Regions from separate parts of the Homo sapiens genome. Here regions 1 and 3 are each linked to region 2. The links are contacts of gene promoters, found by promoter capture Hi-C in blood cells and fetal thymus (Javierre and others, 2016). All regions are on one chromosome and are shown on one strand. The core of a region is centred on a gene start or on the middle of the fragment in contact, and the rest is flanking DNA. Distances in the headings are between cores, read along the strand shown.

What was found. The method cuts DNA at HindIII sites, captures the fragments that hold promoters and counts their contacts. A CHiCAGO score of 5 or more calls a contact.
Region 1: a fragment that was not itself captured here is called in contact with the fragment with the promoter of BTF3 in region 2 in 1 of 17 cell types (fetal thymus); the score reaches 6.5 in fetal thymus.
Region 3: a fragment that was not itself captured here is called in contact with the fragment with the promoter of BTF3 in region 2 in 1 of 17 cell types (fetal thymus); the score reaches 6.4 in fetal thymus.

What each region holds. Positions count from the first base shown.
Region 1 is chr5:75,723,461-75,727,535 of GRCh38, forward strand. All of the region lies in intron 2 of LOC441087 (a long non-coding RNA gene), which reads left to right. Among named protein-coding and RNA genes, the nearest start is that of POC5, 8.1 kb to the left of the region's middle. The HindIII fragment of the contact is 916 bases long and covers 1,364-2,279 here.
Region 2 is chr5:73,496,464-73,500,415 of GRCh38, forward strand. BTF3 (basic transcription factor 3) reads left to right here and starts at 1,979. Exons shown (of 6, transcript NM_001037637.2): 1 at 1,979-2,336; 2 at 2,671-2,739. The coding sequence starts at 2,205. BTF3-DT (BTF3 divergent transcript) reads right to left here and starts at 1,857. Exons shown (of 1, transcript NR_186388.1): 1 at 1,090-1,857. RefSeq lists enhancers at 1,814-1,873, 1,904-2,203, 1,967-2,777 and a silencer at 2,414-2,463. The HindIII fragment of the contact is 2,385 bases long and covers 1,150-3,534 here.
Region 3 is chr5:75,506,235-75,510,235 of GRCh38, forward strand. The region is part of intron 1 of CERT1 (ceramide transporter 1); the gene reads right to left. Among named protein-coding and RNA genes, the nearest start is that of CERT1, 3.4 kb to the right of the region's middle. The HindIII fragment of the contact is 1,003 bases long and covers 2,128-3,130 here.

The DNA of each region.
Region 1 (4,075 bases), core at 572-3,071, 2.2 Mb after region 2:
TGGTCTTGAACTCCTGGCCTCAAGTGATACTCCCATCTCGGCCTCCCAAAATCCTGGGATTACAGGCATGAGCCCACCATGCTGACATGGTTTTATTCTTTTTTATGGCTGTGTAGTATTCCATGGTGTAGATGTACCACATTTTCTTTATCCAACCCAACATTGAAGGACACCTAGATTGATTCCATATTTTTGCTATTGGGAATAGTGCTTTGACAAACATATGAGTACAGGTGTCTTTTTGGAAGAACAATTTATTTTCTTTTGGATATATACCCAGCTATATATCCAAAAGAAAAAATCTATATATCAAGTAGGAAGGTGTGCAAAGATCATGGTAAATTAATTTTGACCAAGTGGCTCACAATACAGGTCCCAAGTAGAACTCCTGTAGTTAGACTACACAGTCTTTTTACAACCTCTTCACACTCTGAGAGCCATTTAACTGAGGCGGAGCAGAAGGAAAAAGACCCTATCAATAAGGCAAAAACGCAGAGTAAATGATGGTTATTATGGACACAGTGGTCTACATATGAGGCAGTTCACCACTTTTCTGTGGATTAAGGGCTTATTCAGAGTATTTTGATTCTCTGGATTCTACAGGCCTGGCTCTGTTATTGCAGAAGGGAGTTCATTTCTTGGCCCTCATCACCAACCTTCTGCTTTTCCTAATTATAAACACTCATTCTTGAACCTCTCTAATAGCATCTTCTAGCCATATAAAAACTTCCTTACCCTTAGCATTCTTTCTCCTGATAAAACAATCTAGCATGAGGTGTGAGAGGCAGGATTAATTAGCTTTTCAGAGAACAATATTACTGAGTTTGAGTACTATACAGATGCTGTATTCTTGGATCTTTAGGGCTTCTGAGGGTGAGTTTGTAGATCAGGGTCATTCAGCTCAGTAATAAGAATTTACGCATTCTAAATTATGACCCTTCTTTCCTTTCTCCATTCTTCCCTTTCATTTTTTTTTTTTAATGGAGGGAAGGGAAGAGAGGCTAGATCTAGTATTTTAAAGCAGATTTGAAATGTTGTGGAAGAATTTGTTTCCTGTCTTTGAAAGCACCATTCTAATTGCTTTTTTGTAGTTGCCTTTTGTGTGTGAGGGGTCATGCCAATCAATCCACCTCACATCTATAAACATGTCCCAAAGCTTAATTGCAGATCTATTGTTTGTAACTTGAAATGCATTTTCCTACAGAAAAATGAAAGTATTATAATTCCAAGGTCAGCTCAATTATGAGTCCATAATAGGGCTGAAACATTGTTTGCAAGCATTGTTTGCAGTATGGTAGAAAACTATACTGTTGCAAGGCTAGCAGATTTAATGAACAGGAGGAAGAATGCTAAATGAGAAAAAAGCTTACTGTATTTTTATCTTGAATGCCGATGAAAAAGAAAAATGGCAATATGGTAGGAGTGGTGATATGCTTATTTACTTAGAGGAGGCTACAAAAAGTGTATTGAATTTAGGGAATTGATGGGGAGGTGGCAGGAGAGGAGTAGACATGATGAGCTTAGTAGGAAACAGAAAGTGTTTTCTGCTCTGAGACGTATCCTGTGTCTACCACGCTCCCAGCCCCTTTGGAGCATCTGTACCTCCCAATCTCACACAAGTTACTGTGTGAGTTAAAATATTAGTCTCCCTATACACAGCCTGCATGTGTCTTAATGTGTCTCTCATTTCACAGTCTGTGGGAGGATAGGTAAAAGGAGATTGGGGATCCCAGGTCATAGTCTCCATCTTGTAGCTCACCAGTTGGGGTCTATTTTAAGTCTGATTAATGGAGATACTAATCTTCATTAGCAAGGTCTTCAAGTGACTTGTCTTAGTGGAATAAGTGTGGCAATAAGAAACAGAAAACTCAATTTAAATGGCCCTGAATCCGTCCATTAGCACTCAATATAAGAAACTGGTAAAAGGATGAATTAGTATCGCCAAAGTAAATGACCATCTTTGCCCAGTGCATTTGGCAAGTCAGTATGCTGAGACACTGGGTTGCAGAAGAGAAAGAGATTTGATTGTAGGGCAGACAAATGAGGAGATGGGAGGAAATCTCAAATCCATCTGCCCAGGAGTTTGGGGCTAGGGTTTTTAAAGGTCTTGGAGTGGGCCAAAGTGTGGAGATCGTTGATTGCTTGAAGAGTGCAAGGTGAAGTCATGGGATAGGGAGATGAAGAAACTGTATTCTCATGCTGATTCCTCTGTGAGGGTCTTTGAACTGTTTCCCTGGAACTCAGGATCTGAAAAACTTCTTAAGCAATCCTTAAACAGAAGCTTTATGATTCTAATGTCAGCAATTCTATCAATAGGAACAGTGGGGATACAAATGGTCAGTATCTAGTGACTTTCAGTTACAAGGAAGTGGGCCAAAGTGCAGCCTGATTAATATAATTATATTTCTGTCTAGAATTCTTGTTAACCCTGTGGGAGGATGGCTTATTGACTTTTCTTTAAAAATTTTTTTTAAAATTTTTAATTTTTATGGGTACATAGTAGGTATATATATTTATGGGGTGCTTGAGATGTTTTGATACAGGCATGCAATGTGAAATAATCACATCATGGAGAATAGGGTATCCATCCCATTAAGCATTTATCTTTTGTGTTACAAACAATCCAATTACACTCTAGTTATTTTTAAATGTACAATTAAGTTATTGTTGACCACAGTCACCCTGTTATGCTATCAAATAGTAGGTCTTATTCATTCTTTCTATTTTTTTGTACCCATTAACTGTCCCCATCTCCCTTGCCAGCTCCTCAATACCCTTCCCAGCCTCTGCTAATCATCCTTCTATTCTCTATGCCCATGAGTTCAATTGTTTTGATTTTTAGATCCCACAGATAATTGAGAACATGCAATGTTTGTCTTTCTGTGCCTGGCTTATTTCACTTAGCATAATGATCTCCAGTTCCATCCATTTTGTTCAAATGATAGGATCTCATTCCTTTTCATGGCTGAATAGTACTTCATTGTGTATATGTACCACATTTCCCTTATCCATTCATCTGTTGATGGACATTTAGATTGCTTCCAAATCTCAGCTATTGTAAGCAGTGCTGCAACAAACATGGGAGTGCAGATATATCTTTGATATACTGATTTCCTTTATTTGGGGTATATACCCAGCAGTGGGATTGCTGGATCATATGGTAGCTCTAGTTTTAGTTTTTTTGAAGAACTTCCAAACTCTTCTCCATAGTAGTTGTACTAATATACATTCCCACTAATAGTGTACAAGGCTTCCTTTTCTCCACATCCTCACCAGCATTTGTTATTGTCTATCTTCTGGATATAAGCCATTTTAACTGGAGTGAGATGATATCTTTGTGGTTTTGATTTGCATTTCTCTGATGATGAGTGATGTTGAGCACCTTTTCATATACCCGTTTGCTATCTGCATGTCTTCTTTTGAGAGATGTCTATTAAAATATTTTGCCTATTTTTGATTAGATTATTAGATTTTTTTCCCATAGAGTTGTTTGAGCTCCTTATATATTCTGGTTATTAATCCCTTGTCAGAGGGGTAATTTGCAAATATTTCCTACCATTCTGTGGGTTGTCTCTTCACTTTGTTGATTATTTCCTTTGCTGTGCAGAAGCTTTTTAACTTGATGTGATCCATTTGTCCATTTTTATTTGTAAACCTTTATGGTGAACTCTGATGAAGAAATGTGCTATTTTATATAAATGTTTATGTTTAACTTTGATGAAGAAATGTACTATTTTATGTTGCAGAAGCACAGCCTTCTGTTGAATGATCTTTTAGAAGGAAGTCCCTTTCCTGTCTTGAGTCTTCATAGAATTAGCTTGCTTTCTTCTAAAAATATCTGCCCATCACTCTTATTTAGAATTCTTCGTTTTCTGAGACTGTTCATATATTAGGATGTTCTTTCCCCAGACTCCCTGTTTTTTCGTTTGCTCCTAATAAAGAATAGACTGTCTCTTCATTGAAAGATTTTTTAAAAAACATAAATAAATTATGATAAATAGATTGGAGTATAAAAACCAATCCGTTTGTATAAGTTACAAAAGTTCCTGAAGTGTCAAAAACCCTCATAGTAATT
Region 2 (3,952 bases), core at 729-3,228:
TTTGGGAGGCCCAGATGGGAGGATGGCTTGATCCCAGGAGTTTGAGACCAGCCTGGGCAACATAGCAAGACCTCCATCTCTAAATAGAAAAGCACAAAAACCAAACCAAAACAGAACGTAAAAAGAAAATCAAAATTTTCTTTTTTACTATTAAGTAATCTTTTATATTTTCAACACGCAGCAAACTTTTAAATTCATGAAAGAACAGGAGAAAAAAGTAGGAACGAGGGGAAAATTAAAAAGTCATAAGCCAGGGAAAGTGGTGCACACCTGTAGTTTCAGCTTCTCAAGTGGCTGAGACTGAAGGATCCTTTGAGCGCAGGAGTTTGAGCCCAGCCTAAGCAACAAAGTGAGACCCCATCTCTTTTAATTTTTTTAAAGTTTTATATTTTTTAAAAAAATTATAAAAATAAAATTAGCAGCATCCCTGGTTTCAAAAAGTAGAAATAAATAAATAAATAAAAGTAGCTCACAATATTTCCTGAAAACAGGTGTATTAAAAGGGCAGAGGAGAGGGAAGGCAAAGAAAAAGAAAAAAAAGGTGGCAGGTTACATACATACAATCTTGTCTCTATAAAAGCTCAGAAAACATCACGTGACTAGGAAGTTTCAAATGCCTCCAATATAACATGGAGGAGAGGAAAAAAACTGTTCCTGGACAAAGATACACATTTCTTCCAAAAGGGGGAGTCTTTCTATATATTTTGTAATATCTCCAGAGCACAGCATAATGTTGGTACTGCCATTTTGGCCTTTGTCATTAGGAAGGTAACCCACATAAGCCTAACTACAAACACCCTTACCTGTACTAAAACTTCACTCATATTTAACTGAAGCAACATTGTTTTTTGTAAATATAACTGTAACAATTATTCTAAAAGGCAATACAGCTGTCCTCACCAGTTATGTTCTTGAGACATCAGTTGCAACAAACTTATATGTAAAAAGTATTCAAAAAGTTTAAACATTGATCTTAACTGGAGAGGGGTCTGCACTTGAACAAGTTTTCTTGCTACACACATTGCATTCTAAGATTTCGGACTCACTTTTGAATATGCAAAGACATTTCATGGTTAAGACCACAAAAAGGCTGATCAGAGAACATTTTTATTTAAATTGCCATTTTAAATATCAGTCGTTTTATCTTAAAGCTTGTCCTGGGTTTAACAAAGTTTAACTCACATCCACGCGTTGTCTCTCCAAACACAGCAGGCAGAAATTCTCCTTTGATTGGATTAAGATAGATAAAGTCTGCTTAACCGTGAATCGCTAATTGTCAAATCCATGCCAATTCGGTACCTAGGAGTCAATTTTTTTGCCTGATAAACAAGATAATTGTGTGGACCGTTTTAAGGTGGTTAGTCATCTGCTAAATTGGCTGAAATGCGGATTACCCAGTTCCTTCGTCGTACAGAGTTGCATTCTGAGGAGTGGGGCTCGGGGATACAGCCCCCAGAAATTCTGAACCTCGGTCCCGCAATCTACCACACCACCTAACCTTGGAAGGCCAAACTAACTTCACTATTTTTGACAAAATGCTTTGGTAATGGCTCATTCGGGCCGAGAGGGAAATTCTGCAATTCTCCAACCCACACCTCCAGCAAGGGGAGAGCTGCTTGAGTGGTGAGCACAAGCTGGGCACCTCCGGCGTCTCCAGGAAACGTGAATAGGCCCTTTCTTCGGAGGGCACAGAACTTCAGGATCAGGGCCCAATGGAGACTGAGCGGACTTAACCCTAACTGTGCACAGGACCGCGCTCTCCGACCCCTTTGTGGCCTCTCCCAGAGGTACGGGCTGCGCCCCAAGCCAGCAGTCTCTCGTAGGGCCTACAGCCGGCAGCCGCTGGAGCAGGAGGAGGAGAATAGGGACTCGCTGGACCATCACAAACGCTGTCGCGCGTGCGCAGGGAGGAACCGAGTTCGCGGCGAAGTCAGTTTCCTGACTCTTGAAGGAAGTGGCCTTGTGTCACTTCCGGCCTCCCTTTAGCTGCCATCTTGCGTCCCCGCGTGTGTGCGCCTAATCTCAGGTGGTCCACCCGAGACCCCTTGAGCACCAACCCTAGTCCCCCGCGCGGCCCCTTATTCGCTCCGACAAGGTACAAAAAGGCTCTGGACGGCGGCGTGGTAGGAGGACGGGAGCGGGGGCGGGAAGTTCCCTGAAGGAGCGAGACAGGGAGGGACAGGGCAGAGGAGGAGAGGAAGGCGATGCGACGGACAGGCGCACCCGCTCAGGCTGACTCTCGGGGGCGAGGTCGAGCCAGGGGCGGCTGCCCTGGGGGCGAGGCGACGCTGTCTCAACCTCCACCTCGCGGCGGAACCCGAGGACAGGAGCCTCAGGTACCGCGAGGCTTGCGGAGAGTGGCCGGGCCGGGCAGGCCCTGGCTAGGCCGAGGCCAGGCCAGGGCCAGGGGTGGGGGGTGCTGGCCAGGCGTGGGGTAGAGCCTTTCATCCGGGCCTGCCAAGAGCGGGGAGCTGTGGGGGAGTGGTGGGGAGGCGGGTGCTCTTTGGGCTCCCTGGAAACCCAAATTTGGAGCTTTGCGGGGTGGATTTGGGATCCAGGTTTCGGCCTGTGTAGGACGTTTATTTTCCTGCTGGTATCTTGGGAAATAACGAGCATGGAATGCTAGAGTGAGCTAAACCTATCCTTGCTGAGGATTTCCTCTTTTTCTAGATGAAAGAAACAATCATGAACCAGGAAAAACTCGCCAAACTGCAGGCACAAGTGCGCATTGGTGGGAAAGTAAGTTTTAATAGTTCGGGTTTGTGGGTTTTTTTTTTAAGGTTTAGGTATTTTAAAAAACATATTCCTTTTGCGCTTCTTATATTATCGGTGACAAACTTTGCCTATCGAGGGAAATTCACGGAGCTAGCAAATCTCGAGGAGCGGGGGAGACGAGGGTTGGAGACACATCAGTGAGACGAGCTAAAAACATCGCCTTTGTGTAAACATGTTTGTGTTTTCAGTGTTACAGAGTGTAAGTAGAACACAAAAGTGTTTCCTAATTTAATTAGTAAGGAAAATGTGTCATTTCAGTTAGATCGTTGTGCACATCATACCCTTGACTTGTTTTGGCCTGAGTTTTCTAAAGTCAGTGCTTGTTTGTCTCTCTTGTAAATTGAGACCTTTCTGTACTGCTTTCTGAACTAAATATTCTTTAGGGTAGTTGCATATTTCAAGGGTATTTGAAGATACGGGTACATTTTGGAGTTTAAGAGCAGTGACTATTAGATTTGAAAATATAACCCAAGTAGGTATCTTTCCTGTTCTGACTTTGTATTACTGTAAAAATGAGGGAATTAAAGTGACTGATTTTTAAATGATCAGTTTTTGATTAATTGTTTTTTTCCTGGTGGATACTGATTCACATCAAGGGGATTCTTTTTTGAAGCTGATTTTTAGATTGTCCTGTAATTAATAAGAAGTCCACTGTAGACAGAGGTCTACCTAGTTTGTATTGTTAGCACATTCTTAGTATTTAACAAGGTGTGGTAGCTTGTTGAAACAGAGCATGTCTTTACTTGGTAAAACTTGTAAAGCTTCCATGGTACATGTTTATTACCTTTTAGTTTTTCCCAACTTTAAGCGTTTAACTTAGAGTTAGCTGTGAGATAGCCAGAAGTTGCACTTAGACTTAAATAATAATATACAGCTTTGTTAAATTACTGAACTTTGCCAGCGGTGAATTTATCCTGATTTTTTTTTACTTTTTATTTTTGTTAACGTTAGCCATCTTCAGGATCCACACCCACACATTTAACAACATTAGATGTTTCTTGTCCTCTTTAATCAATTGTTATCAGACTGTGGCCTTCAAGTGCCAGCAAAACTCAAATTTTTTGTGTCTCAGTGTTTGGATGCTCTTATATTGGTGTTTTTAACCACTCTTACTTTCAGTACAGTTTCAGAAGGAGTAATTTGAATAATGTGCTTATGTGCAGTCTTTTTGTTGTTA
Region 3 (4,001 bases), core at 1,379-3,878, 2.0 Mb after region 2:
AATTCTAAGCATAAACAGTAAAATGATTACAAAAAGTGAAAAGTTGAGATTTTCTAGATTGCATAATGATTTTCAGTAATTTTTACAATATTATAAATAAATCTGTAAGAAATAAAATATAACATTTTCTTCTAACATTTGAAGAATAAAACGAAAGCCAGATTTTGGTTAAAATTATTGTTTATTCTTCGTATGCTTTCATCCTCTCCTAAGTACCTTCATGATATTTGTTTTGGTCCTTGTCATAATTAACATATTCAACAGAGAAGTATGTTCAGTTATGTATGTAGTCTCTCATTCTGACACCAAAGACTGCATGAAGCCTTCTAAATCAACGGAAGTATAAAGTCAATTATTGCTAAACTCTACTTTTGTTGTTATTCCTATATGAAAATTTATAACAGCTGTAACTATATCAAAATAAAAATAATAATCTTTAGTAAGCTGGCATCAACTTTAACTTTTCCTCTACAGAACTGAATAATATTAAAAATGGCCAATACATTTTCCAAGTTCCTCTGAACATGCATTTTTCAAACTCAAGAGTAATAAAACAAAAATAAAATTGCTTTTCAAAAACATATTGGATTGTCTTCAATACCTTAAGAGTTTCTGTGTTGCTAAAGTCTTGCTGCAAAGTGAAGATCACAATAAACTGGAAAAGGCAGAAATGTAACCTTTACAGGAATACTTATTTTTGCATGTTTTTATCTATGCTCTGGGGTGTTAAGTATAGAAAAATCTCAAAAACTATCTGCCAATTCCAAAAACTAATTAAAAATGGATTGCCAAAATATACTGCATTGGCTCAGGCTCTATATCCACTGAGAAATCTTTTATTTTTCTGTTCTCTAATTAAGCATTTTTGAGATTGATTCACTTCTTAAATTTTCTTTTATTTAGTATTTTCTTGAGACAGGGTCTCGCTCTGTCACCCAGGATGGAGTGCAGTGGCACCATCTCAGTTTACCGCAATCTCCTGGGCTCAATCCTCCCACCTCAGCCTCCCAAGTGATTGAGACTACAGGTGTGCACCCCCACATCTGGCTAATTTTTTGTAGAAATGAGGTTTCGCTATGGTGCCAAGGCTCGTCTCAAACTCCTGGGCTCAAGCGATCTGTCTTCCTTGGTCTCCCAAAGTGCTGGGACTACAGGTGAGCCACCATCCCTAGCCAGTTCTTAATTTTTCTAAGCCCCATCATTACAACCACTCTCTGAGAACTCACCCAAGCCAACATTTAACTCATTCTAGTGGCTCCCAATCACCATTTCCTTATTTCTAACTGCTTGAGATGTACCACCACTTAGACACGGGCTTGAAATAAATGATAGTTACCAATAAAACTGAATTCACCTTCCTATAAAGTATACTTCCTTCCTATTTTCCTACTTCCTTGGGGAGACTGCTACTTCTGCTCAGAGTTAGTGTATTAGATATACAAACAGATTAGTGGATATAGGATAAAATAGGCTCAACTATTTTATAACTCATGTGAAGAGAGTTTTGACAAGTTACTTTTGTAAACTTCAGTTTCTTTGCCTGTTGACTGACGGCCGAATAAAATAATGAAAATGCCTAGCATAGTCACAGAAGATACTCAATACCTAAGTGTTCCTTCTCAATATTTATAGCCCATTACCAAAAGCTGCTCATCTTTCCTTCATAGTAAACCCTTAAATTTGCCTCCTCTTCTCATTTTCAACTATTCCAATCAAATTATCCAGTTCCTGTATTCCTTAGGAGACTTAATAATTTTTTCTCTAGTATCTTCTGTTTTTTTCATAATTTACACAAGCTTATTTACTTACTAAGCATATTTGCCTACTTTTCTTACATTGATCGTATTGAGTCTCTAGCTCCAAAACTTACATGGACAACTTCCCACTGACTGTCATACAAATTGTTTAGGGCATTCAAGACCCTTCATGGATTAATCCTACCTCATTTACAATTACCACACTTCATAAGGCTAAACTTTGTGACAGTGGTCAAGTTACTTATTCTCTTTGTGTTCTTTTTTTCTTTGTCAAATTCTCTTAGAGTTAAGTTTAAACAAGAATAGACTTAGAACAGTGCCTGGACATAGTATTTTCTGAATCTGAGGAAGAGTTATACATAGCTAATGAAGCTTAACCTTCAGCATTTCTCACTAGAATAGAACTCTTTCAATGTTAGAGGAGAAGCCCCAGCAATTATGTATCCATAACTTAATATTAGTTCTTATAAGAGACTGAACAAACTGTATCAGCTTCAGGACCCTTTACTCAGTAAGTATTAGCTGTATCATGACACCTGGAAGACAAGTTTTTTGTCTTTTCTCTGCTCTCATAATGTTCCCTCACTCTTCCCCATTTAACAAATACAGATAAGGCAATATGCTAGACACTGCAGGGGAATCAAATATTACTGTGGCCAACAGGCCAGCAGACACAAACTCAAGAGAAAAAAATATATATTTAGAATAAGAGTCAGAAGCAAGCTACAAACAAAATGCTATGGGAATTCAAGTGAAGGAGGTCTTGAATGATGGCAAAATAAGAAAAGGCTTTATGGAAAGGACAGTATTTGGCTTGGACTCTTAAGGATGGACAGAATTTCAAACAGTTTGGTGTGTGGAAAAACAGAAGGTAAACCATGAAGGATGGAGGAAATTCAGAAATTGAATGAGATTATTTTATCCAGGCTTAGGTGCTCTCAAGTCCTACTAAGGCATGCATCTTTTCCCCACCATGATCCATCACGATACTTGCTATAACTAGATAGAATTATTGTCTATCTAGTATTTTTGGAATCTATACACTTAAGTGATTTATAAGAAATATGCTTCATAGGTATTTCCATGTATTTCAGATTACCATATGGAAAATACCCTTTGAACTGGTATATTTCTAATATAAATTTACCCAAGCCCATTCCAAATCCACCCCATTTTGGGGGAGAAACAAAATGAATTGTACCGGGACTTATTTACATTACTCAATGGAAGGAAAAGAACAAAATCCGAGTTCTGACCTTTGTTTAAATTACCAGGTGAATACAAAGAATTCAAACTATATAATTTACATTTAAAAACATCTACCATACTCAGTATGAGTATATATACTCAATTTAGAATACCCTTGATTAAAAAGCTTCCAGAAAACTGTATATAACCATAAATTGGTAAATCTCAGGAAAATTTCCTTCATAGCTTTGAGCAAGAATACCAAAAGCTTTATTCCTATTCATTCTACATATGCAGCAACAGTCAAAATTTAAGCTATTCACCTTCCATAGAGGTGATCAAATACATTTGTATGCATTTAAATATCGAGATTGGTCTTCCATTTTTTTATCTATAGTATACCTACTCCAGAGCACTGGTTACTTTTTCCCCCGGTCACTCCACTCCCCCAACCCCCAAAAAAGTAATTATCAGTAGGTCAAAAGTACAATTTGTTTCGTAAAATACTTAACACATCACAATACTAATATGGCAGTCAGCTTCCCATCTTATGAGCAGTGATGAAACTACCAAAATCACTGAGAAGCAAGTAACCCACTTCCTATTACCAACTGAAAATGTATACCTACTACACAATGTGTTCAATAGAGATTCCTAAATTACAGGATACATTTAATCTAAAGAAATCCTGAGGAGCTTCTCGTTACTGAAAACCTTGCACTGAAATTTCAAGAATGATCACAGCATCAATATACAACATAATTTTGCTGCTATACAAATAAAAGTCAACACTTGCAATCCTTAGTTCTGACTACTCATGCCTTTCCTGGCCCCCTTCTCATTAGCTTTCTAGACATTATAAAAGCCTAATATGAAACAATTCCACAAATAATGTCCAAGTGATTTGCCAAATATGAATACTGGAAACAGGGTGATTTCTTAATAGCCACTGGCTGCACATGACATAGTATCTTATGACCAGCTTGTTGAGGGACTGGCCCAGCTCCCCCTCTCCAAGTTAACTGCTAGCTCCAGCCATGTCTAAAAAAGTTTAAC